Regions from separate parts of the Homo sapiens genome. Here regions 2, 3 and 4 are each linked to region 1. Evidence: promoter capture Hi-C in 16 types of primary human blood cells and fetal thymus (Javierre and others, 2016). All regions are on one chromosome and are shown on one strand. The core of a region is centred on a gene start or on the middle of the fragment in contact, and the rest is flanking DNA. Distances in the headings are between cores, read along the strand shown.

Region 1 (6,372 bases), core at 2,820-5,319:
CAAAGCCCCTGGTCATAGGTTGGTTTTGCTGCAGCAGCCACAGAAAGCTTCTCACCTGCCTCTGTTCCATCCTCAGGACAGAAGAGGCAACATCAAGCTGGGTTGCCTGGCCACCACAGGCCACTCCCAGGCTGGCAGATGTGGCCTTCAAAATGCAACAGAGCCAGCATCTTGTCCCCACCCCCCCAGTCCCTTCTGCCATTTCCTCTGTCTCTACTATCCTTCCTGACCAACCTAGTGGAAGGCAGCTTAGCAATACAGTTAAAAACAGTTTTGGAATCGAATTGATTTGGGGCATGCATTTTCCATTTAGTGACTGTGACCTTGAGCAAGTTACTTAGCATCCTCAGCTTTTTCACTTACAAACTACAAACCACAATTGTGCCTGCTTCTGGAGTTGTTATGTGGGCTAAATGGAAGCTTGCATTTCCCTGAATGCATAAAATAAATTTTAAATATTTTCATAATTATAAGTTATTACATCTTTTAGCAAAGTGTCTGCAGTGTTACTTTGAAGCAGATTCAGTGTTAGGAGAGTGACAGAACACAAAATCTGGCTTTACCCCCTGCAGACTCTGTAAATTTTACTGAATCTCAGTTTCCTCATCTAGGAAATGAGGAGAATAATGCCAGTTTCCTCCTAGCGTGTACAGAAATGAAGGAAGGAGGCATGGTGGGTACACGAGCCATGGAGAACGCATGCCAGGGATTTCCCCATGGCTCTTTCACTTGTGATCAAGTGTGAGGCCATGAAGCCTGCAGGGGTTGGAGCCTGGAAAAGCCCTTGTGGGCAGGGAGGCCCTACGCCCAGAAGGGAGACTAACAGAGAGCTTGGGGGTTACGGTTCCCTGTCGGGTTCTGAGCTGGATTCCTGAGTAGATATGTGGATTAGTGGATCTTCACCGGTGCAGGAGAAGCTCTGGGAAGCTCCCTGTTGCCTTGCCCTGTCACTGGTCAAGCCCAGTGAGAGGGCTTGGTCATCTCTGGGGTGGTGACTGAGGCAGAGAGTGCCCACACTGCTCCTGGGAGGAAGACACCCTTAGCAAACACTGGGACAGGGCAGCAGGGAGCCTAGACCTGAGGGCAGTACCAGCCTCCCCGCACCCAAACATGTGGGGGCCATCCATGCATGGGCATTTGCAGGGCTGCCCCAGGCACGGTCACACTGACTTTCAGCATGCTCAGAATGTAAGAAAAAACTAAACCACCCGTCATCACTGTAACTGACATTCCAGTGTGCAAAGTGTTATTCGTTATTAGACTTATTTGTTCGATAATGACAGGAGTAGTCATAATAACAGCAAAGATTTTTTATAAGTGCTACCAGATGTTGGCACTGTGCTAAGTGCTTCCCTCCTATTCTGAGGCACTTTGCAGGTGAAGAAACTGAGGTCTGGAGAGTCTGGATGTCACTTGACCAGGAGCCTCAGTTGGGAGGAGCTGGGCGTGAAGCCCCCAGAGGCACCTGGCAGCCCTCCACGCCTGCTCTTGTCCCCTCTGTGAGGTGTAAGGACAGACACAATGGTCATATGGGTGTGGGGGTGCCCAGAGGCCCATGCCAAGATCACCCAGCTACCAGGAGGCACGCCTGCTCTGTCTGCTTATCAATGTGAATGACATCAAATGCTCATCATTATTCCTTAACAGCTAACTTAATGGTGATGGATTGATTTCACAAGGCAAGCCTCCTTGGGGTCTTAACCAATTGTGGAAGAACCAAGAACCAAATGGGCAACATCGCCATCTTGTGGTAGAAGTGCCTCACTGAGCCAGCCTGTGGGACAGTCTGCATTGGGATGAGGATTTGACCTATGCTGACTGGTCCTCCCCACGCTGCCCTCCCGCCTTGCCGGTTCTCTCTGTTCCAGCTGCCTTACTCTCTGGCGAGAGAGCTTTCCCATAGCCAGTTGTGTTTTCCCAAATCTAGCTAATTGAACTAGGACGTAGCATTGTTGCTGCCCCAACTTCTACAGTCAGCCCTCTGTACTTACGAGCTCCATATCTGTGGATGCAAACAACCGTGCATCAAAATATTCAGGAAAAAAAAATGTATGGTTGCCTGTATACTGAACATTTTTTCTTGTAATTATTCCCTAAACAGTACAGTATAATAATTATCTACATAGCATTTACACTGTACCACTTATTATAATTAATCTAGAAATGATTTACCATATGTGGGAAGATGTGCATAGGTTATGTGGAAACACTATTCCATTTTACATAAAAGACTTCAGAATCCATGGATGTGGGCATCCTGAGGGGTCCTGGAACCAATTCCTCATGGACACCAAGGGGACTGTATAGTTTATTATCTGACCTTGAGGAAATGTTGTACCAATAAAAGGGGTTCCCTAACAACTTTTCTTTCTTCTATTATCCTTCAATTGATATATTTCAGAGAAATTTTATATGTAAAACAGAAGGTGAGGTGATCTGGCTGAACCCTATCTCTCACATCCTCTCCACTTCCAGAATAAACCCTCTGTATAATTTGAAGTTTGTATAACACAGAACACCCAGTTTTGAATTTTACAACCCTACACATTGAAAAAATATTGGGGGCTACAGGCCTACAGAGAATATTTGTATTTTGCCAAATGAGAACTTTAAAGGGAGCAAAATTATCCTTGCTGTCACTCCGGCAGGGTCAAATATCAGAATGAAAGGCATTTCTTCCCAAGGAAAAAGAGCTGGCCGGGCGTGGTATCTCACGCCTGTAACTCCGGCACTTTGGGAGGCCGAGGTGGGCAGATCACCTGAGGTCAGGAGTTCGAGACCAGCTTGGCTAACATGGTGAAAACCGGTTTCTACTAAAAATACAAAAAATTTAGCCAGGTGTGGTGGTACGTACCTGTAATCTCAGCTACTTGGGAGGCTGAGGCAGGAGAATCACTTGAACCTGGGAGGAGGAGGTTGCAGTGAGCCAAGATCATGCCATTGCACTCCAGCGTGGGCAACAAGAGCGAAACTCCATCTCAAAAAAAAAAAAAAAAAGAGTTTAATCCTCAGTGAACACTTTTGCCTCTAAGTGTATTGGAGTTAGAGTTCATGCCAGTCCTTAGGAAAGCATTTTGGAAGCATGGCTAAGGACATTCTGGGATCTGAACAACTCTACAATGTACCTGCTACAAGTGAAGATGCTTCCCCCTTGGGACCTCACGGAGGACCACCACTTGGTTCTCTTGGGAGCTACCCCAGAATCCTCACATGTCTGAACTGGCAAGAACAGGGCCTGCTGATGTCTTGGGAGAGCAAGGTACAAACCTGCATCTGACTTCGAATTAGCCTCTGGACTCGATATAAGTAGGTGTCGTTGCTGGCATTGTTGTAGGATTGAATGAAGAAGTTGAGTGTTGAATTCATGTTCTTCTTGCTCATGAGCTTCTGCTGGAAGCCCTCCCACCTTTGGAAGTGACCCAGCTTGGCTGACAGGACCAGGGCAATCAGCAGCAGCAGGGGGTTTCTCCAGCATCCGATCCCCATGTCTACAGCCTCAGAAACTTTCTTCCCAACTGCACCTTCCAGGGTGTGGTGGTGCCAGGCTGCAGTTCACTCATTCTCCCATCATAACCCTCACCAACATAGGCTTTCCTGGGGGATGGCCTGCCTGCATTTAAACAGAGATTCAGACCTGAACCTTGTCACTCAGTTTCCAGCCAGTTCATTTTCTACCCATTTACACCACCCATTCAGTTCTTTGGTGATCCAGGCAAGCAAAATTTTTAAACACCTGCTAAGGCGTGCAAGCCCCTCTCCCTGCCTTCACATGTCTCAGGGAAGAAAAGCCCCAGAACAGCCCCTACAGTGCTCTGCAATAAGAGCTGGGGTTGTAGATAGAGAAGCATCACTTACAGGAAGGGAGGCGGCCTTACGGAGAAGGTAATATCTGAACTGAGATATAAGGAAGCAGTCATATGGAGCAAGGAGTGGTACATTATTCTTACCTTCCTTGGGTTCCAACTGTCTTACAAAGCCACCACCTGTTCCCTGTGCTTCCTTTACAGACACGTTCTCCTTGCTCACCTGCCGCCCGCCCACCACAGATTTCTGCTTGCAGGATCCCCCTATACCTGCAGGCCCTGCACTGGCTTTTGCTATCTTGTTGTGACCCTAGTGGAGCTTTGTGAGGTAATTGCAGCCTCCCTATGAGGGAGGAATAAACTGTGAGCCCCATTTAGAAATTATCCGCAGACCCCTGAAGATTAGGTGTCACTTACCCCCAAAAGCCCATGAATGCCCTATTTTAAAAACATTTGCTGGCTGGGCGCGGTGGCTCACGCCTGTAATCCCAGCACTTTGGGAGGCTGAGGTGGGTGAATCACCAGAGATCAGGAGTTCGAGACCAGCCTGGCCAACATGGTGAAACCCCATCTCTACTAAAAATACAAAATTAGCTGGGTGTGGTGGTGTGTACCTGTAGTCCCAGTTACTTGGGAGGCTGAGGCAGGAGAATCACTTGAACCCAGGAGGTGGAGGCTGAAGTGAGCCGGGAGGGTGCCGCTGCACTCCAGCCTAGGTGACAGAGCGAGACTGTGTCTCAGAAAAAAAACAAAAAACAAACAAAAAAAAACACCTTAAATGGAATCCTACCAGAAAAAAACATTAGTGGAATAGTTGATGAAATGTGAATAAAATCTGCAGATTAGTTAATAGTATTGTGTGAATGTTGATATTCTAGTTTTCACCGTTGTACTGTGATTGTATAATATGTTAACATTTGGGGAAGTGGAATGAAGGGTATACGAGAATGCTTTATGCTATTTTTGCAGCCTTTGTGTAAGTCTGAAATTATTCCAAAATAAAGGTTAAAATGTCCAAAACTAAATAAAGCGTTGTTCTGTGAGGAGTAGCGTGCTGAGGGAGGGGAAGCAGGAGACTTAGGATCCAACTGTCCTGGCTCAAGTCCTTCGCTGGGGACTCTGGGAGAGTTACCTCATCTCCCTAAGCTGGGTTTCTTCACCTGTAATATGAGAATGGGGAGAAAGACTCCACTTGAATTGTGGTAGAGACTAACTGGATGTAGGCAAAGAACCTGCTCCCAAGTCAGGTGTCAGGTGCATAAGAATGTCTTCTTCGTGATTCTTCTGTGACTCTGAACCCACACTTCACCCATGGCCTGTCATGTCCCGGAAGCCAGGCCACCTTCCATCATGACAATGTTGCTAGCACCAGTCACAACATCCTCCCTTGGCCCCAGAGCCTGTCTTGAGAGGACTTGTCCAGCCGGTGGAGGTGATACATTTGAAATTCCCTGAGCCTGAGCTGCCGAGGGCCACTTGCTGTAGAATAGATAATGAAGGATTCCGAGTAATCCGGGAAGCCACACAGACCTGTGCCGTCTCAGCATGCCCCAGACACCTGGGATACCCCCATCAGGCTGAGGCCCATAGAGAGGAAAAATAACATTGGGTGGGCCATATTAGAAACCCCATGGATGTGGGGCTCAAAGCATAAACAATAAATCTGCTTAAGAAATATGGGAGTTGGTTGTGTCCATAAAGAGGAAAATGAGTCACTGGCAATTTTAATTGAAGAAAAGGAAAACATAGACCCTGACTATGCCACAGAAAGAGATGTGAGGCGCCTAACAGGTCACACTGGCGTTCCTTAGCTTGTGTCAGCAAAATGCTGATTTCTGACTCTGTGGACATGGAATCAGGAAAAAAATATGATTCTGGTAAGGTACATGTATAAAGGGAGACAGGGAGCTTGGTTACAGCATGGAATAGGGGCAGAGCATAGTGGCTGACACCTGGGAGGCTGAGGCTAGGAGGATTGCTTCAGCCCAGGAGTTCCAGACCAGCCTGGGCAACATGGTGAAACCCCGTTTCCACAGAAAATACAAAAATTAGCCAGACATGGTGGCCCACATCTGTAGTCCCAGCTACTCTGGAGGCTGAGGTGGGAGGATCACCTGAGCCCAAGAGAGGTCGAGGCTGCAGTGAGCTGAGATCACACCAAGCACTCCAGCCTGGGCGACAGAACAAAGGGAAATAGAGGGCTTAGTTGTTGTCTGGTTACTGCCATGAAACAATGGAAAAATAGGGGCCTGAGTATTTCCGTGGAACAAGAGTAAATTAGGAGTGCTGGCTATAACAAATAGGAGCCCTGTTCTTGCCAATAAAAGAAGGGAAAAATATGAGCTCTGGTTAGACCATGGAATAACAGGAAATATGAGGTCTGCTCATGTCTGTGGAATAAGGAGCATAGGAGAGAAGGATTGCAGAAGGGCATGAGAAAACTTCAGGTGATAGATATGTCTGTTGTATGAATTGTAGTGATAATTCCACAGGTGCATACGTATGACAAATTTCATCAAATTGTACACTTTAAATATGTGCAATTTGGCCAGGCGCCGTGGCTCACACC
Region 2 (6,372 bases), core at 1,972-4,471, 240 kb before region 1:
TGCAGCAGCCCCTGGCGAGGGGGTCAGGGAGAGGAGGGGGCCCAGGCAGCTGCCCCAGAAGCTGGGCTGGTGCTTTGGTCTGAGGTCCTGGTCAGACCAGGAGGAGGGGGCTGGTTGTGTCCACAGGCAGGGGCCAGGCCTCGGTGGAGCTCGCCAGGACGTAGATTCCATCTGTGCTTGCAGAGTGGAGCAGACTCCAGGGACTGAGCTGCTCTCATCAGATCCCCTAGACACTAAATAGACAGCGATTGACGTGTAGTTCTTTCCACAGGAGACTTTAGGACCCAACATGGAAACAAAGTCCAAAAGTGTGTGTGTGTGTGTGTGTGTGTGTGTGTGTGTGTGTAACTGATTGGGAAAAATGCCACCCAAACCAAAGATGGGCAGGATCACCCAGAGAAAGCAGAGCCTGCTGTCATCCATCCTGGGAGGGTGTGCCCCAGGCTGGGAGGTTGTCTCCTACGCTAGGAAGCTGTGCCCTAGAAGGGTTTTACACATTCTCATCCAGCCGCCCTTTCTCTAGACTTGGATTTAAAACCAGCACTCAGGTCAGGTTTCTTGGTAGGGATGGAGAAGCTAAAACACAAATGGAAGTGACATGCAGTGGACACTCGATTTTTTTCACAAAGGATGTTTTAATTAATAAATAACATCACCTTAGTGTCAAAACCATTCTGTAGAATAGTGGGTAGTTGCACTCCAAAGAAGAGGCTACAGTCCTAAGAGCCCGCCCACCCTGCATGGCCTTTCCCATTGCCATTTCAGGGCAGAGGGGTGCAGCCCTCAGGGCAGGTGCCTGTGGGAAGGGCTCTCAACTATCTTCCATGCCAAGAGCTGTGTTGACCAAGAGTGGCTGCCATGAACACCGAGGGGGAAATGACAAAGGGGAAACTGCCCAAACAGCCCTGAGGCCAGCACCCCATGTGCCGCACATAGAAAGCCAGGAGGAGAATGATCTGGTAGGGATAGTGGGGAGCACCTCCTTCATTTCCCCTCCACCCCCACGGGATTTAACCAAGGTTTTGGGTTGAAAAAAGTGAAGCAGCGCCCAGGAGGCCATGAGCTGAGGAGAATTGAGTCTGGGTCTCACCCGGTGTAGGGGGGTCGGGGGGTGCACACACTGATTCAGGCTTCTGTTGGAAAAGAGGGGCTGAGAGCAGAACAGCATGTGCCCAGGAATCGTGGTTAGGGGCAAAGTCTTCCCTGCATGGAGATCCTCATGGTTCTCTACCTGGTGGAGGGTCTGTCTTGACATAAGCAACCACCATCCAAGGACACAAGGAAAAGGTGATTTTCTGTAAACCAGTAACTTTTCTGACTTCTCTCTTCCTGGGGAAGTGGAGGGGAAAGTCTGGCTCTGTAGAGGGCTCCCTCCACCATCTCCCTGTGTGTCTGTTCCCTAGGTGGGGAGCAGGGGACAGCGAAGCTTGAAGGTGAGCATGTGGGTCTTTGTCTTCTGCACCAAGCTGAGGATCTGGGCTCTCTCTGGAAGCTACCGGGTTTTGGGAGTAAAAAAGTCTCCTAAGGGTCATGTTTTGGAAATATTGCACCCCTTCTAAGAGTTCCTTTAGCAAAAATAATGTCACATATTCTTGCTAAAAGTGTAAAACCACAGAGGTTAGAAATTCCACCTTCAGCATAGACAAATCACTCTGGAAGGAGAGATAAATCCAATGGAGGCCTGGGAAGCAGGAACAAGTGCGGTCATTCCTTGGGCAGGTGGATTCTCAGCACTATGACCACAGACAACCCAGGTTCCGTGAGGTCTGAGGCTTACATAATTCAGAGGGTTATCTGCATGAAAAATAGCATAATATAACCAATTTGAAACTAAGCACAGAAGTTAGTGTTTATTTAAGAAGAGGAAATAAGTCACAACAAATTACTCATTTTAAAGTCCTAATAAATACAACAATCATCCCAAATTCCAGAAAAATGATATACATCCTAGTGCGATCAGTCATCAAAACTGATTTTGCAGTTAACAGACTCAAGATTATTGGCTTATTGCAAAAAGGGAATAAATTCACATCAAGATATCTGGGATGATTCAAAAAACAAAGCAAAGAGGTTACTATAAGACTGTGGGGAGGGATTTTTGAGGCTGTAGTGATGGACTCAGAGCATGGCAGGCCTCAGTGTAAAGCAGCCAGTGTCAAGTCTCGTCTGCAAAGTGGACCTAGGTCCTGTGTCTTTAGAACCCATAAAGTCCAGCCAGATGTGGAACGTTCCATCCAGAAACCCCTTCTCTGTAGCTCTGTGCTTCTGTGTAAAGGTGGATATAGATCATCCAGGCAGTGGGATGTTCTTCTTACTCATAAGCAAAGTTTCTGACAGCCCCTGACACTAGAGAATAAGGTCTTCCATTGAGTCAGAAAGCAGTCCTCAGCCAAGGAAGAGGCTTCCTGACTTTTCAAACCTGCAGCTTGAGAGAAACATTGTTTCCTGTTCATGATGTCATTGGCTTTGTCCTCATCAGTCCATCCATGCACCTTGCAGATGAAAGGGCAGATTTGCCCTTCCTAAATTTGTGTTCTTTTTACTTGCTAACATAGCATTTTTATTAATTAGCTACTTGACACAGCAGTGTAATAAGTTATTTCTATGTTTTCATAGTCAACTATTGAGTCACAATTTGCCTCATCACATGACATTGATTTTATAATAGAATTTTCTATAAATATAGCAGAAAGGTAAACCAGTCTTTCCACTCAGTTTGATCACTTTAAAATTCTGATAAATACTACAATCATCCAAAATTATGAAATACTACAATCAATCCTACTTGTGAAAATCATGGTTTATAACATTTTCTTTCTGCTTCAAAACTCACATTGGTAATATTATGCAAATTTGTCTGGTTGTTGTCTAATTTGGAAAAGCTTCCAGTTTTCTTTCATGTGAGCACTAAGATTTTAGTACTTTCTAAATTTTCTTGACTTAAGATTGATGATCGTTAAGACTCTATTGACAATGATCACTAATCACAGCATTTTAAAACTCTCATTGTTGTAGTGGGCTTCAAAATTGTGCAAATGTATAATTATATCCTATATTGATTACCTTATGGAATGTGCAGAAAGAGTTTGTCCTGAAAGAAGTATTTCTTCAAGCCATCTTACTGTTGGTCAAAGTTTTACATCTGTGTTGTCTGGAGCTGTCAGATTTCATCAGGATAAGAGGAGGATGGAGGCCAAGTCTGATCCATCGGGTCTGTGTCACCTCACAGGCATACATCCTTGCTGTGAGCAGTTCACTACACAGTTCTGCACCCTACAAATGTGAAAGTCAAGAAATCCTATCTCATTAAATTCCTGTAAAAAATAAAACAATTTGGGTCTCACTTGGGTAAAATGAAAAACGAAATAACATAAAATAAAAACAAACTTCATGATACACTAACTATTGTACATACCATATTAGTGAGTACATTTTCATGAGGATAACACTTTCATTTTTGACTAGGTGTCGAAAGAACCCAATCTTTTGGGGCCTATTTTCAGCATTCTTAAAGACAATAAATTCCAAACAAAATTTCCTATCCCATCAAACTAAGCTTCATAAGCAAAGAAGAAAAAAAAATCTTTTCCAGACAAGCAGTCACTGAGAAAATGTGTTACCACTAGACCAGCTTTACAAGAGATGCTTAAACGAGGTCTAAAGATGGAAATAAGAGAACAACACCTACTGTTGCAAGAATACAGTTAAATGCATAGTTCAGAGACAGTAGATAGCAACAACACAATACATACTACAAGGAAAACAGCTGTCACCTTCATGATAGGATCAAAAACTCACATATAAATATTAACCTTGGGCCGGGCACAGTGGCTCGCACCTGTAATCCCAGCACTTTGGGAGGCTGAGGCGGGTGGATCACAAGGTCAAGAGTTCGAGACCAGCCTGCCCAGCATGGTGAAACCCAGTGTCTACTAAAACTACAAAAAATTAGCTGGGCATGGTGGTGCACACCTATAATCCCAGCTACTTGGGAGGCTGAGGCAGGAGAATCACTTGAACCCAGGAGGCAGAGGTTGCAGTAAGCCGAGATCGTGCCATTGTACTCCAGCCTGGGCAATAGAGCAAGTCTCTGTCTCAAACAAACAAACAAACAAACAAAAAATATTAATCTTGACTATAAACAGCCTAAATGACCCACTTAAAAGGCACAGATTACAAGTTGTATTTAAAAACCCAGACCCATCCATCTGCTGTCTTTGAAAAGATCCATCTCACACATAATGACACCCATAGTCTCAACAAAAAGGGTTGGAGGGAGATCTATCACACAAATAGAAAACACAAAAGGGAGAGGTTTGCTATTTTCACATCAGATGAAACAGACTTTAATCCCAAAACAGCAATTTAGAAAGGACAAAGAAGGGCATTACATGATGACAAAGGGTTCAATTAAACGAGAAGACTTAGTTATTCTTAAACATGTGCACCCAACATTGCAGCCCCTAGATTGATAAACAAGTATGCCCAGGCCAACAAAAAGAATTAGTCACAGAATAATAATGGGGTACTTCAATATCCCAATGGCAGTGTTAGATAGATTATTGACGTAGAAAACTAACAAAGAAATTCTGGATTTAAATTTGATACTTGACCAATTGGACCTAATAGACATCTACAGAATACACCACCCATCAACCACAGAACATACTTTCTTCTCATGGGACCACAGAGCATGCTCTAAGACAGACCACATGCTCAGCCATGAAGCAGGTCTCAATAAATTAAAAAAGGAAAATCATACTAACTGTAATCTCAGACCACAGTGGAATAAAAATAGAAATCAATACCAATAAGACAAAATGAAATAAAAATAGAAATCCATACTAAAGAGAGTTGCTGAAGCCACAATTTTTCCTGAGTGATAGGTACTATGGCCAGGAACAGCTATGCAGTCATGGACTTGTGTGTGGGTGTCATTTCTGGGTGCCCCAGCCTGCCCCCTTTGTCAGTTGGGAGGTGTGTCCCACCAGTTTTGAGCTGCTGGTGTGAATGGGGAGTGTGGTTCATAGCTCCCTTATCTTGCAAATAATTTGGCAGAGCAAAAACACCCCCCCCTCAGGTCCAAGCCTGGGCATATTTCCCAGCATTCAACACTTCCACTTCCTGAAATAAGGGCCTGGCACCCCTCCCATGAACAGAGCTTCTTGCAACAGCCATTTCTCCACTCTGCAGCAAATTTTTTTGTTCCTCACTGAGGGACATATTTCCAGGCATTTGGCCCATCTGCTCACCTAGATTAAGATCCTGGGTCACCCCTCCATTGCTGTGCAGACATCTTGGTGCAGAAGCACCCTCTTCACTCCACAACCAGGCATAATTTCAAGAATTCAGTACACCCCCTCACCTGGATTAGGAGTATAAGTTGCCTTTCCCTTCTAATGCGGAGATCTTAGTGCGTCTTTATTTTCCACTCCTCTCCAGGGCATAGTTCCAAGCACTCAGTGCACCTGCTCTACTGGACTGGAACCCTGAGTCACTTCTCTTGTCCTGTGCAGAAATCTTGGTACAGCAGTGCCGTCTCTGTCTTGCTCAGGGATATTTCCAGGCATGTTGAGTACCCACTTACCTGGAATAGGAACCTGAGCTTCCCCTCCCTTCTCATGCAGAGATCTTGGTGCAGACGCACCCTCTCCACTCCATGCTGGGCACATTCCCAGGCATTTGGAGAACCTTCTCACCTGGATTAGGAGCCTCAGCCACCCCTCCCTTCAGGTGCATAGGTCTTGAATCAGCAGCACCCACTGTGCTGCATGCCTGGACGTATCTTCATGCATGTGGAGTACTCGCTTTTCTAGATTAGGAGGGTAGGTTACCACTCCCTTTCCAGGCAGAGAACACTGGGCAGCAGAGGATTATCCCCTCCATACCCAGGCACATCTCTGGATGTTTTGCAGCTGCCTCTTTATCTGACTTCAGAGATAGTGCTTGCACCTACCACTGGTGGACATGTAGGCATGTCTGCATTCTCTGGCCCAAGCCAGCTTGGTCCCTCAGTCCAGGACTGTACAGGGAGCTCACACCACTGTGCATTCCACAACATAGCCCATTGCCTGAGGCAGCAGAAAGCATCTCGCCATAAACAAAGATCAAGTATATGCCCCATCTGAATCAGCCTTAGCTGGTTCTTATCCATAAGCACCACCCACTGGATTGGAAAATAAATGGCACAATCTAATAGAAAATCTGCTGACAGAAATGCATAGCACTGGAGAATGAGATAAACTTCCTGAGACCTCAGCCATACTGGACATGTAGGAGGCAGTGAACCCACTCATTTCTCCCTTCACCACTACTACAACCAACATCTAAGGAAGCCACCATACAAAGACTACCTATAACCAAGGAACATAC
Region 3 (6,372 bases), core at 1,451-3,950, 190 kb before region 1:
CTTCCCTTTGCCATTTTAGGACAGGGGTGCAGCCCTTACAGCCAGTGCTGCTGGGGCAGGCCTCCCAGGTACCTTCCAACCTCGGAGCTGCACTGACCCCCTCTTTTGGCTGCTGCCATGAACACTGAAGGTGAAATGATGAAGGAAAATCCACCCCAGTAGCGCCAAGGCCAGCACCCCACATGCTGTCCCTGCAAAGTCAGAGCAGGGGACACGGCAGGGAGAGTGGGGAGCGTCTGCTTCCTTTTCCTCTCCACCCTGACTTGCTTTAACAGGGTCTTTGGGGTGAGGGAAGTGTAGCACCCCCTAGGATGCCATGAGCTGAGGAGATTTGAGTCTGGGCCTCACCCTGCTGGGGGTGGGTGGTCTTAGTCACTCAGTTTTCTGTGGGGGGTTGGGGGATAGAAGTGGTGGTTGTGGTCAGTGGTAAAGGGTCCCTGCAGGGAGGTGCTCCTGGTTTTCTACCTCGGTGAAGGATCTTTGACACAGGCAACCTCCATCCAGGCACCCAGTGGAAACGGACAGCTGACCATATAGCCCAGTGCCTTTTCTGACACACTTCTTCCTTGGGGAAGTTGAGGTTGGGGGCGGGCTGTGCACAGGGCTCCCCAGCCTCCCTGTGTGTCTGCTTCCTTCCCTGCCCTCCGCCCGGTGGCCCCATGGCCCACAGCCCACAGGGAAGCAGGTTGGTGCCACCCCTGCCTCCCCTCCGCAGCCGGCGGGCCTGTAAATGCCTCCCTTGGGCCCCCATGAGGCCAGTGAGCCAGAAGCCCCTCTGACCCAGAGGTCACTGTGACCAGCACATCCTGGAGAGGAGGCCTCGCCCTTGCACCTTTCATCTGCAAGAGTTACTTTTACATTTATTTTAAATGTTGATTTAAGTATATACTTCATCTACAGTTATCCATATAAATAGATTCATTACAGGGCCTGGCTCTGAATAAACACAGTAAGTTGGAGAGGCTTTTTCATTGATCTGGTTCTACACTGGTGGCTTTATAACATAGTGCTTTGACACCTCTTGCATTGTGTTGCTGGTGACCATTGGGGTGGGATCAGGAAGGGCCCAGTAGCTTCTGAGCTCCCTAGCATTCTTGTCCTGAAGGAAGCCAGCCTTTGCAGAAGGATCCCTCTCCCCAGGACGGTCAGGCTGGCGGGGTGTTCCTCGATGGCAAGCCTGCAGACACCTACCCTCAAAGGCCCAGGGAGCTGAGAGGCCGAAGAGAGGCTGACAAGTCTAGTTTCTTAGAAAGAAAGTTGTAATAGGGACCTGGGAACAGAAGCCGTGTCCTGCGTGGCTGCAAGACAGTGGATCGCCACCCCATTACCCCCAGACCCTGGGCTTCTGTGCCATAGGGGAAAAGGTATAGGAGCTTCAGAAGGAATTTACCTAAGGGCTGGATTTACAGTAAACAGCAGATGAAATAGAAATCTTAGAAGCATTGATGGGACTGAGGCTCAGCATTGGCATCCAAGATGGAGTCTCCACAGGAGACCGCCCAGAGCCGCTCCAGCTGACACCCACAGCAGATTTCCATAACCATAGGTCAGTTTCAGGATCTCAGTCCTAAATCTGGCTTGTTCTTTTCCATTTTTTTAATTACTCCATTTTAAATATAATATTTTTGTATCTTTTAGGTAATATTTTTATATCTTTATTCTTTATTCCCCCAAAATTTTGTTTTCTAAATGTATTTCTTCCTCCAAATGAAACTGTTTTTTCAGGTTCAATAAGTAGAAATATTATGTTTTTTTAGGAAAAAAAATTGACAACGTTTAACATTTGAGCCTTTCATTTTAGAATACCATGCATCTTGCAATACCTTCCTGCTTTTCTGATGGTATTCAGTAGAATAAATTTTATGCATCTTTCATATTTTCTGTGAAATTTATTCCTGGATATTTTATATTTTGGTCAGGGATATTTCCAAGTATTGTACCTCTAGTCTTTACTGATAGACTAGTTAATAGTTCAATAGAAGACTATTGAGTTTGCCTTTTTTTTTTTTTTTAACTCTGCCTTGGTGGTTTATTATTTATGGACTTAGAGGCTTGGGATGTTGCCACCCATGTGGCTGTGAGAGACAGAGGAGAGCTGGCTTATGATTGGCTGACGGGAGTGACCTTGGACTAGGCCACAAGCCTCCCTAAAAGATGTAGAGAGAGCAAATCGCCAGCCCTGTCCCATAACTCCAGGGCGAAGCTGGAGAGACGAGGCCCAGGAAGACAGCAGCTAGTCACCCCTTCCTCTCCTTATGCTCTGCTGTGCTGTCTGAGTTCACTGCTCAAAGACACAACACTGAGAAGCCATGAACACAATGGTGACTAAAATAGGGAACAGACATTCCTTTAATTACCCATACCTGCTCTCACCCTTGGTGCTGGGATGCCAAGTGGGTCACTTCCAAATCCTGTCACCTGAGGCTTATGGGGTCGAGTCAGATGTGCTCAGGCCACTGTGACATCAGCTGGGGCTCTGGCTCCCTTGAGACCAGGTCAGGCTCATCTGAACTCTAGTCTCAAGCTTGGCTGTACATGGCGTCACTGGGGAGCCTGGCTGCACATGGCAATCCCATGATCCCAGTCGGAAAAGTTGATCGTGTTCTGGGATGGGACGTGGACATTGGATGTTTAAATACTCCTCCCATTGCTTCCCCAAGGAACCACTGGACTATAACTCAATTAGAGTCCTGGTCAAAGTCCAGTTGCTCCTAAAACATCTGCAAATTGCAGCAGGTAAAGATAGTCTCATGGTCACATCTGCCTGTGGACACACTTTCCGTGCCAGGTATCTCTGCAAACGTGTAGCCCTTGATTTCCAGTAAATGAAACTCAACAAAGCAAAAGCAAACGGAAATTCCTTCCACCAAAGCTTTGTTTGGGGCAATGAAATTTGTCGGTGATTTCAGGAAATCACCTCCTGCCCTGTGGAACAGTAACCCCCACTTCCTCAAACCCAGCACTGGGTATTTCTGTCCTTGAAATGCCCTTGGCTTCCCTCCCAAAGGTAGTTGCCACTTGACCTTCACATTCCACCCCCTCCCCCCCCCACCAGTCACTGGCCTGATTGTTCCCCTGCCTGCTCTTCGCCGTGGCATTCCCCATCTGTCCACGCATCCTCTCCACTGAGTCCCTCAGCAAGTCCAAAGGCTCCTTTGTGGGGTAGAACCACTCAGCTCTTTGTAGACTTCCCCACACCCATCAAGGTGCTTATAAACCAAAGGCCTTCCTAGTGAACAGGACCACCTTCTTTGTGAGGGACTTGAGATCACTAATAGCAACAGTTATTTATTTATCTATTTATTTTACCCAAATCCAGGACCCTGATGAAAAGACTGAGGAAAATGCTGCCTTTCCTGAATGGCTACCAGGCAGGGAATGATGCTGGGAAGTGTTTACCCCACAGGCTCTGTGCCTTCTCTGACTGGGCAGCTCATGCTGTATGCATGGAGGCATCATTACCAAACACACCTCTGAGGCCAGCGGCCAGCGTCTGACTCACAAGCCATGACTGCCCCACCTTCTTACAACAACAATAGCAGTTTCCCCGTGAGGATTCACCCCTCCTCCCCTCTCACTCCGCCTTTTTCCAGGGAAGCTGACTCTACCCTTTGGACCACAGCTTGGAGCACTTGACCCTGGCTAAGCTGGTCAGGGCAGCGGGTCTCCCTCCCCTGAAGCCTCATGATTGGCATGAGGACAACACGTGACCTATGTGTGGCTGCCCAGGACCCACATAGGCTTAACGGTGGGATTTTGTTTGACTGTGTGATAAGTGGGTTCTTCCTTCCCTGCTGAGTGTGAAGATAAAAAAGACTTGAGGTCTGGGGCCCACTTGGAGCCTGTTTGAGAATGAAGCCAAGTTATGGGAAGCAACAAAACTGAAGAGACAGCAAGGAAACCAGGCCTGGTGGTGCACTCCCAGCTATTCTGGAGGCTGACGCGGGAGGACTGCGTGAGCTCAGCAGTTTGAGGCTGCAATGAGCCATGATTTCACTACTGAACTCCAGCCTGGGCAAAAGAGCGAGACCCTGTGTCTCAGAAAAAGAGAGAGAGAAACAGAGAGCAAGGAGCAGGTGGGTTATAATGGAGTCCCTGCACCAAGCAGAGCCTGATGCCCGCCCTTGCTCTGAACTTCCTAGTTATGTGAACCAACCACCAGGCCAGTTGGGTTGGGTTTCCAGCCCTGTGCTCTTGTCTGTCCTCACTGACAGACAAAAATAACTCATCAGTCGGTTCTCAGACCCACAGTCCCATGACATTTCTTGACTGTTTCAGAAGTAATGCCTCAAGGACCAGCTTGCAGAAAGTGGAGGACCTGCCCCCTGGACCTTACAAGTAGCAGGCCACTCTTAAAAATGCAAGGACCACAGATGTCACCATGACTGAAAAATAGAGGCTGGCCCTGCCTCTGAAGATGCTGCAATGGACTTGTGTTCAAGGAGAAATTGGCTGTAACTTCCCTTATTGAGATATAATCGGGCTCATCGTTAAGCTGTGGTCAGCCAGAAGTGTAGCTGTGCCCCTGGGATTGAAATCAGCAATCAATCTGGACATCCTTTTTCTATCTTCATGAGGCACCTCCCCAGTACCAACCAAATTTCTTGGGGATCCCCCGGGACTTCTCATAAATGGAATTGATTTGAACTCAGGAAACCCTCAAATAGGCCAGAACAACTCACTAATTAAATTCATCCCCTCCCAAAAACAAAAACAAAAACAAAAAAAAACAACACACATGATAGGAAAAAAATTTTGCAAATTATATATCTGATATAGAACTTGTATTCAGAACATATAATGAACTCTTACAACTCAATAAGACTGGTAACCCAATTAAAAATTCTTTTTAAAAAAACCAATTTAAAAATAAAGGCAAATAACCTAATTTTTATATAACTCAAAGTTTTTAAAGAAACAAACCAATTTAAAAGTTCCAAAGGATTTGAATAAACGTTTTTCCAAAGAAGATATGTAAATAGCCAATAAACGCATAAAAACGTGCATAACACCATTAGCTATTAGGAAAAGGCAAATCAAAACCACAGTAAAAAGCAGCTTCAAAGCCACTACATGGTTGTGGTCAAAGAGACCACAAATAACAAATTGGAATCTTTATACATAGCTGGTGGGAATGTAAAATGGTGCAGCTGCTTTGGAAAACAGTTTCACAAGTTTTCAAAAGGTTAGACCTACCATATAACCTAGCAACTCTACTCATATTTATATGTCAGCTACAAATAAAAACATTAAGTTCACCAAAATATTTACACATGAAAGTTCATAGCATCATTATTAAAATCAGAAAAAAATATATTAAAAAAAACCTCAAATGTCCATCAACTGACGAATGGATAATCAAGATATAGTGTTAGTCTATTCATACAATGGAAAATGAACGGGCATAAAAGAGAATGACATGACCCGTGCTACAATGTGGAGCAATCTTGAAAATGTGCTAAGTGAAAGAAGCCAGCAAGCCATGCTGAAACAAGTCAGCATTCATACAATATGATTCAATTTATATGAAATACCCAGAACAGAAAAATGTATAGAGACAGGCTGTAGATTAGTGGTTGTCTAGGGCTGGGGGCAATAGAAGGCAGAGTGACTGCTAATAGGAAGTTTCCTTGGAGGGATCATGAAAATGTTCTAAAATCAGATTATACGTCCATTTGCACAATTTTGTGAATATACTCGGAACCACTGAATTGTATACTTTAAGTGGGTGAGGTATGTGAAAATTAAATGTCAGTAAAGCTGTTTAAAAAAGTTTCATCCCAAAGCTACATTTTACCTAAGGCAAATGTTTACTACCGCTTCTCTTTCAGTCCCAAATAATTTCCAGCCATATGTTCCAGTCAAGCCTCGACAAAATTAAACAACACCACAACTTACTCCAGTTACAAGCCAATGTGCAAATGCCCCAAACTTGACCATAAATTTACCACCCAACCCCCATCGTCTCATTCCCAGGAAAAACTAAACACAAGATCAACTCCCCTTGCAAGTTGAAGTCCTGACATTGAAGTCTAAAGAAATCACAGCCCACAATAAAATTCTTAAAGTGTACAAACAATTCTTCTCAAATTCTTATTTGGCTCAGTCTCAGGCTCTCAGCCACTGAGATCCCCCAGCCTTAGTGCATGCGTGACAGGTGACAGTGCAGTGCCTGTAGCCCATTTCTCACAGTGATTGGATGTATTTTTTAAAGGTAGAGAATCCCAAAGTGCAGTTCCTGGACCAGCAGCAGCAGCACCACCAGAGATCTTGTAAGAGATGCAAGTTCTTAGGCCACACCCCAGCCTGTTGAATTAGAAACCCTGGGGCGTGGCCCAAGAATGTGTGTTCACAAGCTGTGAGACAAAGTAG
Region 4 (6,372 bases), core at 1,950-4,449, 130 kb before region 1:
CCTTAGCAAAAATAACAAGGCGGGGGACATCAAAATATACCTGACTTCAAATTGTAGTACAATGATACAGTAACCGAACAGCATGGCACTGGCATAAAAACAGACACATACACCAATGGAACAGAATGGAGAACCCAAAAATAAATCCACATGTTCACAGCCACCTCATTTTCAACAAAGACGCCAAGAAAACCCATTGGAAAAGGAACAGTCTCTTCAATAAATGCTGCTGGAAAAACTGGATGATCATAATGCGGAAAAGTGAAGCTAGACCACTACCTCTCACTATATATACATTAAAAAAAACACTATATATATAAAACACTATATATATAAAAAAAACAAAAATTGATTAAACGCTTAAATTTAAGATCTGAAACTATGAAACTTCTAGAAGTATTGGGAAAACATTTCAGGACATTGGTGTGGGCAGACTTTTTAGGTAAGAACTCAAAATCATGGCAACAAAAACAAAAATAAACAAACAGGATTACATCAAGCTGAAAAGGCATTGCACCACAAAGAAAACTGTAAATGGGGCTTACTTTCAGGTCCCTTTGTATGCCTTATAATTTTTTTTGGAAAACTGGTTATTTAAATATTAAATTGTGTTAACTCCAGGAGTCTGAGTCTGCTTTCTCCCTAAGATTTGTTGTTGCTTGCTGTGGATTGTAGTTGTGTCTTTGTTTAGTGACTTTTCTAAACTATTTCTGTGAAGAGTGTGTTACTTGTTACATGTGGTCAAAGTCACTAAACAACTGTAACAACAACAACAACACCCTTCCAAAACTAGCCCACTTGGTGTGTGTATTGGGGCACACCTTCAATGCGTAGGCCACTCACACCTCTGTCCTAGCCAAGGTTCCTTGCTTGTGCTGAGATTGGAAGTCAGGCAGAGATGCAAGCTCAGGGTCACCTCAGGTCTTTCTTGACCTATCTCTTGTCTTTGAAAAGACCTAAGACACATCTATGAGATATAACTATGTCAATTTGCACCATTATTTTTGTTGTTATTATGTCATTTTCCAATCTCAGTTTTTAGGGAACCCATGAGAAGTTTTCATTCTTGTGTAACTCATGCAGTGGTAAGGAATCCTGCAGTGCTGGCTTCTGCTTCACAATTATAAGCAAGACTTTGCCAAGTGAAAAGGAAAGTGTGAATCTTGTGTCATGGATCCCTTGACTTGTGAGTTGTGTTTGATTGAAAATCTTTCTCATGTGAAAATCTTTCACAACCCAGTAGATCTCACAAATAATTTTGCAAATAGTTGTGTGGTTGAGCTGTTTGTTTGCCAAGGTTAAATAAATATGAGAAGAATGGGTCAGCTGGGTGTGATCCAGAAGACCAGTGACATTTCGACAGTGCAATGGGGGCTGGACACAGTAGCTCATGCCTGTAATCCCAGCACATTAGGAGGCTGAGGTGGGAGGACCACTTGAGGCCAGGAAAGTTCGAGACCAGCTTGGCCTACATGGCAAAACCCCATCTCTACTAAAAACACAAAGAATTAGCCGGGCATGGTGCAACACGCCTGTAATCTCAGCTACTCAGGAGGCTGAGGCAGGAGAATCTCTTGAACCTGGGAGGCGGAGGTTGCAGCAGTGAGCCAAGATCACACCACCGCACTCAAGCCTGGGCAACAGAGATTCCGTCAAAAAAAAAAAAAAAAACAACCCATGAAACAACGCAATGGGCCAGATTTCACCTGTTATCATTGCTAATCAGGACACAGGTTTCAGCTACTCTGTGTCACCCACTTCCTGGAGTCAAGGCAGAAGATCAAGATGCACATGGCTCCTGGGCAGCAGCTCCCCACACACTAGCTACTTTCTTCTGTCTGTGATGGGTGAAGTCTCCTGTGAGGAGACACTCGGGACCACCCCAGTGTTGGGTCAGGCAGCATGACTCTCTTCACCTGCAGCTGTCTTGACCTGGCCAGTGCTGTGCTAGTGTGGACAGATGCAGTGATGCTCTTCCCAGGCCTGGCCCTGCTGTGATCTGGGAACATGGTATGGGACACAGTCAGAACAGTTCTTGTAGAATCAGTCTCCCTGACTTGGGACTGAACTTTCTATTCTGTTATCTGGCAACAATGCTAGGTTCTTGCCTATATTGCAGCACCATAGTCTTCTCAGCCAAACTCAAAGCTCTCACTTTTGCATACTTCACCTGTCCTGCACTATTTAATGTTCATTCTTACAGCAACAAAATATTATTATTTCCTCTTTCAGGTTAGTTATTGCCAGGAAATTGATTTAAAAGTAACCACCTAGTATCACCTAAGTGCTGGCAAAATAGCTCACTCTAGAACACCAAGAAGGATGGTCAGATGGAGACAAAAATGATCAAGGGGCTGAAGAATGGTCCAACCTCTATCTCACTGAGGCAGAAACATGTGATCTCCCAGAGAAGTGTTTAAAAATTTGGTCTAGAATGATATTCCAGTCTAATAAAACATGAGTGTGTGTGGTGGGGCTGCAGATGTAGGGCGGTGGGCCCTGTAGAAACCTTGGCTCTGGCTCAGCTGGAACCAGGGCTGACAAGGTTTAGAAATGCAAGCAGGGCTGGGCTGGGCATGACCAGGCTGGGGCCTCAGGACTTGGGTCTCTGTCTTTCCTGCCCTTTTCTCACAATACTCATTGTCCATCCCAGGTCAAAATGGTTGATAAAAATTGCCATTTATTTTTTTCATTTTTTCCCTTGGTTCACAGAGTACAACTGTTGAGGTATTATACAACAAAAGAACAAACTGATATCTTAGTTATTTTTCTGAACAACGGAGATCCTCTCTTCGACGGGGTGAAGGAGGGGAGAGTGAGAGTCGAGATGTCCCCAGGTCTTATCTCAGTTCGCTGTGGGAGGCGAAGGCACAGAATCATCCAAGGACACCAAGCACCTGAGGACAACCAGAACCTGTGGGTTCTGAAGGAGCAGCCTTCAAAGCTAGTGGCAGAGGGTAGCTCCCCTCCTGCCTGTGGCTTGTGCTGGCCTAGAGAGTATAGGGCAGAAGGATGGCAGATGAGTGACTCCACATCCAGAGCTGCCTCCCTTTAATCCAGGATCCTGTCCTTCCTGTCCTGTAGGAGTGCCTGTTGCCAGTGTGGGGTGAGACAAGTTTGTCCCACAGGGCTGTCTGAGCAGATAAGATTAAGGGCTGGGTCTGTGCTCAATTAACTCCTGTGGGCACGGGGGCTGGGAAGAGCAAAGTCAGCGGTGCCTACAGTCAGCACCATGCTGGGCCTGCCGTGGAAGGGAGGTCTGTCCTGGGCGCTGCTGCTGCTTCTCTTAGGCTCCCAGATCCTGCTGATCTATGCCTGGCATTTCCACGAGCAAAGGGACTGTGATGAACACAATGTCATGGCTCGTTACCTCCCTGCCACAGTGGAGTTTGCTGTCCACACATTCAACCAACAGAGCAAGGACTACTATGCCTACAGACTGGGGCACATCTTGAATTCCTGGAAGGAGCAGGTTGGTGACCACGTACCCTCCTGCCCTGGCATCTGGCATGTGCTGCTCAGTGAAAAATGGGAGTGGGGTGGGGACAGGGGGTCTTATTGAAGAGTCTTGTTCACCAGTTGTAGTCCATACTTAAGAAAATACAAGGTAGTTTAGTTAGTTTTTGATTTTGAAAACATCTAAGTTAGAAATTTCAAATAATTTGATCCTAATCAACTCTCATGAAAAACATATTGTTTAATCTCCATCTTTTTATGACATTATTTAACTGAAGAATGACTTCAAAATGAGGACTACCAAGAAAATGAAGATACGGAATAAGGAAAAGGGCTGAACAGAAAATGTGAATAGAGAGAAATTGAGAAATACTTCCAAAAAATGTAATAAAAAAGAGATAATTTAAAAAATGAAAATTAAAAAAGAGAACAGTAAGGGTTCAGGAGCAATAAGAAACCCCCACCAGTCCCAAAAGACCTCTGGGTGGTCAGTTCCTCTTTGCTGATTTCCAACTTCTCTGAGCTCCTTGGTGTGTCTGCACTTAATAAACTGAAGACTGTTTCACACTCTTCCTCAGACCACAGGTCTTAATCCTAAATGTTCTCCTTTTAATGAAGTCACTACAGAATGCAATCAGGAATGCACAGTTCATCTGTGCTGTAGGCATGAACAATGAAAATAGTCACCAAGTTGAGGACTTTTTTTTTTTTTTTTTTTTGAGATGGAATCTTGCTCTGTCACCCAGGCTAGAGTACAGTGGCGTCATCTCCGCTCACTGCAAGATCCGCCTCCCAGGTTCAAGTGATTCTCCTGCCTCAGCCTCCCAAATAACTGGGATTACAGGCACCCGCCAGATGCCTGGTTAATTTTTTGTATTTTTAGTAGAGACAGGGTTTCACTATGTTGGCCAGGCTGGTCTTGAACTCCTGACCTCATGATCTGCCCACCTCGGCCTCCCAAAGTGCTGGGATTACAGGCATGAGCCACTGCACCCAGCTAAGTTGAGGACTTCTAGTTGGGTAGAGAGGCAAAAATGCTCTTCCTACCTCATTACTGAAACCTTGCAAGAAGAGCAAAAGGACCCCAACCCTGCACCAAGCTTCAGCCTCTGGAAAGACCCTGTGCAAGGCCCTGGCTGGTTCTCTGACCCCTGCTCTCTGGGCTGGAGCCTGCCACGTGGGTTCCTGGATGTGACAATTCCAGAGTCAGTTTTGGAGTTGGGGAAATGGACGGATAGGGAGAAAGGAGATGGAATGAAGTGAAACTGAAAGGAGTGAGAAGATCAAGGTGCACTTTGCAATAGGGCAGATGGTGTTTCTTTCTTTCTTTCTTTCTTTTGATATGGAGTCTCACCCTGTCAACCAGGCTGGAGTGCAATGGCACAATCTCAGCTCCCTGCAACCTCTGCCTCCCGGGTTCAAACAATTCTCCTGCCTCAGCCTCCCTCCCGAGTAGCTGGGATTACAAGCACCTGCCACCATGCCCAGCTAACTTTTGTATTTTTAGTAGAGATGGGTTTTCACCATGTTGGCCAGGCTGGTCTCGAACTCCCGACCTCATTATTCACCCACCCCAGCCTCCAAAAGTGCTGGGATTACAGGTGTGAGCCACCACACCCGGCCCCAGATGGTGTTTCTTGAAGCCATTGTCCCAAGGATGTATGCCTGTGTGTAGTGGGAGTGCTGGGTGGCATTCTTGCATTTTTTTTTTCCTCAGGTCAGGTGGAAGGTTTGACAACATGCCCTAGATGAGGCTCCCTCTGTCCCAGGGCTGAGGTTACCCTGAAAGCTCTTGGAGAGCCAAACCCCTCCCCAGGCACATAGCGCCATCCTCTGGAAATGCAGCTGCAGGTTCAGACACTGACTGAGAGTGAAACTGGGGTCTCACCATGGGAGAGTGGGAAGTGCATCTGGAAATAGGGATACATTCATGGGTGTCTGCCCTGGGGCCACCATGCCCATCCGCTTTTTGTTCTTAACTGCCCAATCTAAAGAAGATCTCCTGATGCCAGGCCCATGGGCAAGCTCCCTAATGGAGGAGAATGTTGGGACTTCTCCTACACAAATGACATCTTCACCAGCAGCTACTTAGGGGCAACAAGGAGGGTGTGTTCACATTAATCTCTCTGTGTGCAATAGGTGGAGTCCAAGACTGTATTCTCAATGGAGCTACTGCTGGGGAGAACTAGGTGTGGGAAATTTGAAGACGACATTGACAACTGCCATTTCCAAGAAAGCACAGAGCTGAACAATGTAAGACAGGACACCAGCTTCCCTCCTGGATACAGCTGTGGATGCCACATGGGGTGTGGTGTGGGCACAGGTGCAACTGACAAAGAGACTTAGAGGAGTGAGCCTGCAGCAGCCTCTACCAGGCTGCCCTGCTTGTGCCTTAGTGGGGAGCGCAGAGGGGCAGGCAGCTAGGGGTCCACTTGCAGGCTCCTGGCCAATCTGAGTTTATCAACTCTGCCCTGTCATGCCACTGCAGCTGCCTGCACCCAGGGCACATGGCCTTCAGACTGCTCTTTCCCCCTGGGGTCCCAGTCTCCTGGGTCCAGTAAGAAGTGGTCCCCTCTCTGGTCTTCCTCCCCTGCCTTCTGGAAGAACCTGGGATCTGACATCACCTCTGTCTGTGGATGCAGTTCTCAGGGTTTCCTTACCCTCCCCTAGACCCAAAAGTGGTAGAGGCTGAGAAGGAGCCCCACTACCCTCCCTCCCAGGCCCTGAGCTGAGCTGCAGCACCTGCTCTAGGGGACAAGCTCCAAGTAAAGCCTGGCTCTGGGAAAACTCTTCCTATGCTTAATCAACACCCTTATTGTAATATTAAAAAATAGGTAGCTGATTGCTTAAATCTGGGAACTGCTTCCACTGGGACAATGCATTCTCCTGCTGCTCTTGGGTGCAGGGATCACACCA

The links. The method cuts DNA at HindIII sites, captures the fragments that hold promoters and counts their contacts. A CHiCAGO score of 5 or more calls a contact.
Region 2: a fragment that was not itself captured here is called in contact with the fragment with the promoter of CSTL1 in region 1 in 1 of 17 cell types (M0 macrophages); the score reaches 5.4 in M0 macrophages.
Region 3: a contact is called between a fragment that was not itself captured here and the fragment with the promoter of CSTL1 in region 1, in 5 of 17 cell types (M0 macrophages, fetal thymus, megakaryocytes and 2 more). The highest score is 7.0, in M0 macrophages.
Region 4: a contact is called between the fragment with the promoter of CST9L here and the fragment with the promoter of CSTL1 in region 1, in 4 of 17 cell types (M1 macrophages, fetal thymus, M0 macrophages and 1 more). The highest score is 8.5, in M1 macrophages.

Annotation. Positions count from the first base shown.
Region 1 is chr20:23,437,382-23,443,753 of GRCh38, reverse strand. CSTL1 (cystatin like 1) reads right to left here and starts at 4,069. Exons shown (of 4, transcript NM_138283.1): 1 at 3,948-4,069; 2 at 3,268-3,610. The coding sequence starts at 3,486. RefSeq lists enhancers at 749-1,328, 1,731-1,830. The HindIII fragment of the contact is 9,312 bases long and covers 423-6,372 here.
Region 2 is chr20:23,679,050-23,685,421 of GRCh38, reverse strand. No RefSeq gene overlaps it. Among named protein-coding and RNA genes, the nearest start is that of CST4, 6.8 kb to the left of the region's middle. The HindIII fragment of the contact is 674 bases long and covers 2,885-3,558 here.
Region 3 is chr20:23,626,413-23,632,784 of GRCh38, reverse strand. It overlaps a transcript of CST3 not described here. Among named protein-coding and RNA genes, the nearest start is that of CST3, 8.4 kb to the left of the region's middle. The HindIII fragment of the contact is 348 bases long and covers 2,527-2,874 here.
Region 4 is chr20:23,565,311-23,571,682 of GRCh38, reverse strand. It overlaps CST9L (cystatin 9 like), which reads left to right and starts at 3,199. Exons shown (of 3, transcript NM_080610.3): 1 at 3,199-3,472; 2 at 5,596-5,709. The coding sequence starts at 3,233. The HindIII fragment of the contact is 6,864 bases long and covers 1-4,558 here.